Regions from separate parts of the Homo sapiens genome. Here region 1 is linked to region 2. The links are contacts of gene promoters, found by promoter capture Hi-C in human tissues and cell types (Jung and others, 2019). All regions are on one chromosome and are shown on one strand. The core of a region is centred on a gene start or on the middle of the fragment in contact, and the rest is flanking DNA. Distances in the headings are between cores, read along the strand shown.

Region 1 (2,984 bases), core at 169-2,668, 1.7 Mb before region 2:
ACCTTGGCCCTGGCGAATGCACCCCACCCTGCATCAGCCTCCTCAGGCCCTGCCACCCAGCACTCTGCCTCCAACTTTGCTTCCCCCAAGGTCTCTGTGCTTTGAGATAGAAGTTTTGGGCCAAGTGCAGTGGCTCATGCCTGTAATCCCAGCACTTTGGGAGGCCAAGGCGGGCGGATCACCTGAGGTCAGCAGTTAGAGACCAGCCTGGAAACACGGCGAAACCCCGTCTCCACTAAAAATACAAAAATTAGCCGGGCATGGTGGCACATGCCCATGGTCCCAGCTACTCAGGAGGCTGAGGCAGGAGAATCCCTTGAACCTGGGAGGCTGAGGTTGCAGTGAGCCAACATCATGAATAAACACTTACATTTCTACTGCCTGAACCAAGTCTTGGCAGCAGAAGGCTCCATCGTCAAAGCAGCTGAGAAGCAACAATCTCCTGCTCATTAGATTTTTGGGGGGTCTGGGTCAAAGATCAGTCTACAGTTTGAGCATAATGAGTAAGAAGTAAACTTTTGTTGTGTTAAACTGCTGAGATTTCAGTGTTAACTTGTTGCCACAGCATTACCTATCCTATATGAACTAATTCAGGCAAAAAAGGAGAGGGGGAATAAAAAATAAGAGCGCACAGTGAACATAAAACCTGAAACAAGACGGGAAGGGACTACTGCGAGCCCTCTCCTTTACTGTGAGGTGAGAGGCGGGCAATGCTCCCTCCACACCCGACCTGAGGGGGATGGGAGTCACAGTTTGGCAGCAGAGAGAACCAAAGAAATCCTTTTCACACATTCCTCTTAGTTGCTACTCTCTTCACCTTTAAATTTATTGTTTATTTATTTATTTATTGAGATAGAGTCTCACTCTGTCGCCAGGCTGGAGTACAGTGGTGCGATCTCGGCTCACTACAACCTCCACTTCCTGGATTCAAGCGATTTTCTTGCCTCAGCCTCCTGAGTAGCTGAGACTTATAGGCATATGCCACCATGCCCAGCTAATTTTTGTATTTTTTTAAAGTAGAGATGGCGTTTCACCATGTTGACCAGGATGGCCCTTCATTAGCTTTACCAAGGTGATTGAGTTTTGGGAACGGGTTATTATAATTTAAATTATAAACTAAGTCTCTCCCAAAGTTAGGTTGGCCCAAACCCAAGAATAATTAAGGACAATTTGAAAGCTTAAGGGCAAGACAAGGGGCTGGTTAGATCAGATCTCTTTCACTGCCATAATTTTCTCACTGTTACAATTTTTGCAAAGGTGATTTCAGATGTGGGACTTTCAGTTTTAAAACTGGGAAGCTCCTGGGACAAGTTGATCCCGTACATGTTTTATAAATTATCTAGACAGATTAGCATGACTTGGATACCAAAATGGGACAAGGATAGCATCAGAGAAGTATGATCCAATTTAAATATTTGCAAACTGAATCCAGCAGTTTATTAAAAAAGCAATTCAGAAAAAAGGAACAGATGTAAATGTTCTTAAATTGATAAAGAATATCTACCAGAAGTGACAGGAAAGCTCATGCTTGCATCCTGAGAAACACTGTAAGTGTTCTCAGGACAGTAGGGAGCAAGGCAAGTATGTTTGCTGTTACTGCAACTGCTTAACATTGTATAGGAGGTGTCTGCCAAGATCATGAGGACAAAAATATGCAAATATTAGAAAGAAAGGGACAAGACTGTACTCTTTGTAGAGAATACTATTGTCTATGGTGAAAACCAAATACTGATGAACAGACTATCAGAACAAATAAAAAATTCTGCGAGGTGGCTGCGTAAAGAGCTCTCATTCACAATTAATAACAAATTGAATATATAGAAAAATAAGTAACACAATTGAGGGCTTCTTATGTGACAGATTCTCCGCTACACACTTTTTTTTTTTCTTTTGAGACGGAGTCTTGTTCTGTCGCCCAGGCTGGAGTGCAATGGCGTGATCTCGGCTCACTGCAAGCTCAGCCTCCTGGGTTCAAGTAATTCTCCTGCCTCAGCCCCCTGAGTAGCTGGGGCTACAGGCATGCGCCACCATGCCCAGCTAATTTTTATATTTTTAGTAGAGACAGGCTTTCACCATGTTGGTCAGGCTGGTCTCGAACTCCTGACCTCATGATCCGCCCACCTCGGCCTCCCAAAGTGCTGGGATTATAGGCATGAGCCAATGTGCCCGGCCACGCCACACACTTTTGAATGTATTCCCTTCTATGATCCCCACAACAACTGACTTGCGCTGATGGAAATAAGTGGTAGAGACAGGAATTGAACCTACCTATTGAATCCTGAAGTGTCTTCTATCCAAAATAATTCAGGTCATCATGGCAGTGAATAAACATAAGATCCTGGTGGCAGGAACAACTCATTGTCCACCCAGATGCCTACTCTCTCTTCCGTAGGGTGGAGTTGCAGCTGGTAAATGGCTCCCAGCAGGGAGCTTGCCAGGCTCCTTGACACCTGTGTGAAGCCATGCGACTCATTCTGCAAATGAAAGCAAGCAGAAAGGATGCGGGTCACTTCTTGATCAAGGTGGTTAACAGAGGGGCATATCTTCTCCAGAGTCTCTCAATCCTGGCACTAGCTGGATGGCAAAGCCCAGGGCAATCTTAGAGACCTGGCGGTAAAGATGACAAACCCTCTCTCAGCTTTGGGTCCTGAATGGGTTCCCAAATGTGAAATAGGGTCTGCTACATAAGACAGAAACAGACTTCTTTTGTGTTAAACTGCTGAAATTGCAGAGTTATTTGTTACAGCAACTAATGTTACCCTAATTAACACAAACCTAACAAGAAATGTCCAGGATTTACATGAAAAAACTTCTAAATGTTTAGAAGACTATATGAGATTTGAAAAAAAATGGATACTATAATATACTTACGGGTAAGACAACTGATTCCTGCAAAGATATAAATTTTTCCCTAAATATCCCTACCTCAATACTTGTCTAGATGATTTTCTCATTTATTTGGAAGATTAAACAAGATGAAATAA
Region 2 (2,954 bases), core at 252-2,751:
GCTGAATGAACACCAGCCACCACCTCCTAGTGCACTCCTGGTCTATGAGGAAATAAACCCCCACGTGTAAATTGCTCTAGTTGTTCTATTTCTTGCAGCTGAACACATTCTAATCGACATAACTGTCAGGGGAAAAGACCTTCAGAGAAATGTGCATGTTGTACTGTTTTGTGAAATGAGATTATGTATGATTGCACAATAGTTGTGAGCACATTGAAAGACTGGAAGGGCGGCTGGGCGTGATGGCTCACGCCTGTAATCCCAGCACTTTGGGAGGCCGAGGCGGGCGGATCACGAGGTCAGGAAATCGAGACCATCCTGGCTAACACGGTGAAACCCCGTCTCTACTAAAAATACAAAAAATTAGCCAAGCGTCGTGGCAGGCGCCTGTAGTCCCAGCTACTCGGGAGGCTGAGGCAGGAGAATAGCGTGAACCTGGAAGGCGGAGCTTGCAGTGAGCCGAGATCACGCCACTGCACTCCAGCCTGGGCGACAGAGTGAGACTCCATCTCAAAAAAAAAAAAAAAAAAAAAAAAAAAAACTGGAAGGGCAATAATAGGTAACAAAGTACTGAGCACCTACTATACTAGGTACATCTCATTGCAGCCACTCTATAAGATGGATGCTTCACGGTTATGCTCATTTAAGAGTGAGACAACTGAGGTTCCAAGGGGTTTAATAACTTTCTCAAATCATGCAACCAACAGATAGCTAGCTTGGGACTCACAGCCAGGTCTGGCTGGCCCTAGAGAAAGTGCTTCCACCACCATATGCACCCCACCAGTGCCTACTGGCTGCACAGACCGCCACCAGCCCTAGCAGCAGTGATTTCTGGAGAGTGGGATGGGAGAATGGGCTGGTGGTGAGGAGGTTTGTCTTTATCCACTTCTTTAGTGTTTCCTTTTTAACAAGCAATTTTTGTTACAAAAGTGGACATCCAGAGATATTGACAAAATAACACTGGTGCCAGGAACTGTGCTAGGAATATAATAGTTTTCTTCCGGATCTGGATCTCTACTGTGGATATCCACTGGTCATACATGCCTACTGGAAATAAAAAGCATTCTTTCCTAACTTATTCCAAACCCTGGCTAAAGGAATTCTGGGGTTGCCATTATGTTACTATGTGACCTACGTCCCAGATAAGGAACCTGCGAATCTGCCACCTCCGCCCTCGGGAGAGCCAGGCCCTGCAGTCACTATATGTGAAGAATCCTTTGGAGCCTGGAATAAGAGGGTTTTATGCATCATTTTTTAATCAACTGGATTTCTCACCTCCCACCTGTGCCTAAATGGTGGCTTCTTGGTATCTTGAAAGGGGGTGCTCAGCAGGAGAAAGCAGCTCCATGTTTCTGGGCAGCCCGTCCTATTTACAGACTGCTGCGGCTCCCTGGCAGCTGCCACAGTCCCCGAGGCCAGAGGGAGTTCCTTGAGGGCCCCAGCAGTTGTTTGAGTCATGTGTTTTGGGCCCTTTTCCTTAGAGATCCTGGCAGGGCCAGCACAGATTTCTTATCGGCTTCCACACTGCGGAGCTGCAGCCCTCAGAAGTAAGCAAGGTTTCCTGCCGGGAGAAAAGGATTTGAAGCATTCCAGCCAAAATGACGGACAGAAGCCCCTTCGAAACCGACATGCTCACCCTGACCCGCTACGTTATGGAAAAGGGGCGTCAGGCCAAAGGGACTGGGGAGCTCACCCAGCTGCTGAACTCAATGCTGACGGCCATCAAAGCCATCTCCTCGGCTGTGCGCAAGGCCGGTCTGGCCCACCTGTGAGTCCTGGGGAGCAGGCATGGGGCACAGAGCACCCCAGGCCCAGGCAGGGGTGTGGGAGCTGCAGGTGCTTTGGCAAGAAACTGGGTCCAAAGCTTATTGGCCCTGTGTGCCCTAGATGGAAGCTGCATTTCAAGTTCCTATCATGTGTGCTTTGATAAAGGGGCCTTTGACTTGTTTTGAGAAAGGAACGAAAACATGCTATGAAGAAATACACATATAATTTTTCCAGTTATTATAATGATACCAAGTGCAGTGGCTTGTTGCATTAAAATATGTATTGTGTTATCATGACTTGTACTTGCACAGAGAGAGTCTCACTGGAACAAAGAAGTAGAGGGGTGACGTGAAATATCTCTTTATGCCTCTTGCAGACATGAGTGTTTTATTGTAATAAGCTTTGCAAATATGTTAGGAGCTGGAAATTATGTACGACATAGGAAGCTTGGTAGAGCCCCTTCCTGCATCTGCTCTCTCATCATCTAAAGGAGTGTTTTGCTGGCTACGTGTTTTATTTCTTCTCTGTGACTCTTTCTTTATCTTCACCTCCACTTGGTGTGCAGGAAGCCGGGAGGTGCTAGTCCTGGGAGGGGAGCGCAGAGGTTTCTTCCACAGGGTTCTCTTTGGTGCTTTATCCGAGCATAGATGAGGCCAGGTTCACATTACACTGCTGATGGTCACAGCCCAGTGTCCAGTTTAAGTCTGTAATAAAAAGAATCCGGTGGCCAGGCACGGTGGCTCCTGTCTGTAATCCTGGCACTTTGGGAGGCCAAGGTGGGTGGATCATGAGGTCAAGAGATCAAGACCATCCTGGCCAACATGTTGAAACCCTGTCTCTACTAAAAATACAAAAATTAGTTGGGTGTGGTGGCGGGCGCCTGTAGTCCCGGCTACTCGGGAGGCTGAGGCAGGAGAATCGCTTGAACCTGGGAGATGGAGGTTGCGGTGAGTCGAGATCGTACCACTGCACTCCAGCCTGGGTGACAGGACGAGATTCCATCTCAAAACATACAAACAAACAAACAAAACCCCAGCTTTCTTTGGGCTTCCCTTGTAGTAATTCCAGGGGAGGTCCTCTCAGGAGCTGAAGGAACACATATTTTGGGGATGAAAGAGACTCAAAATGAGGAGCTAACAAAGTCCAATCATTTAAAATATTTACTCTGAGCAATTAAGTGCTTTTAA

Evidence for each region. Contacts are between HindIII fragments. The study calls those that stand out against the background at their distance.
Region 1: a contact is called between a fragment that was not itself captured here and the fragment with the promoter of FBP2 in region 2, in 1 of the 25 tissues and cell types used here (dorsolateral prefrontal cortex).

The regions. Positions count from the first base shown.
Region 1 is chr9:96,258,629-96,261,612 of GRCh38, reverse strand. All of the region lies in intron 2 of HSD17B3 (hydroxysteroid 17-beta dehydrogenase 3), which reads left to right. The region is part of intron 17 of SLC35D2-HSD17B3 (SLC35D2-HSD17B3 readthrough); the gene reads left to right. Among named protein-coding and RNA genes, the nearest start is that of HSD17B3-AS1, 14 kb to the right of the region's middle. The HindIII fragment of the contact is 4,862 bases long and covers 1-2,984 here.
Region 2 is chr9:94,592,371-94,595,324 of GRCh38, reverse strand. FBP2 (fructose-bisphosphatase 2) reads left to right here and starts at 1,501. Exons shown (of 7, transcript NM_003837.4): 1 at 1,501-1,768. The coding sequence starts at 1,599. The HindIII fragment of the contact is 6,105 bases long and covers 1-2,016 here.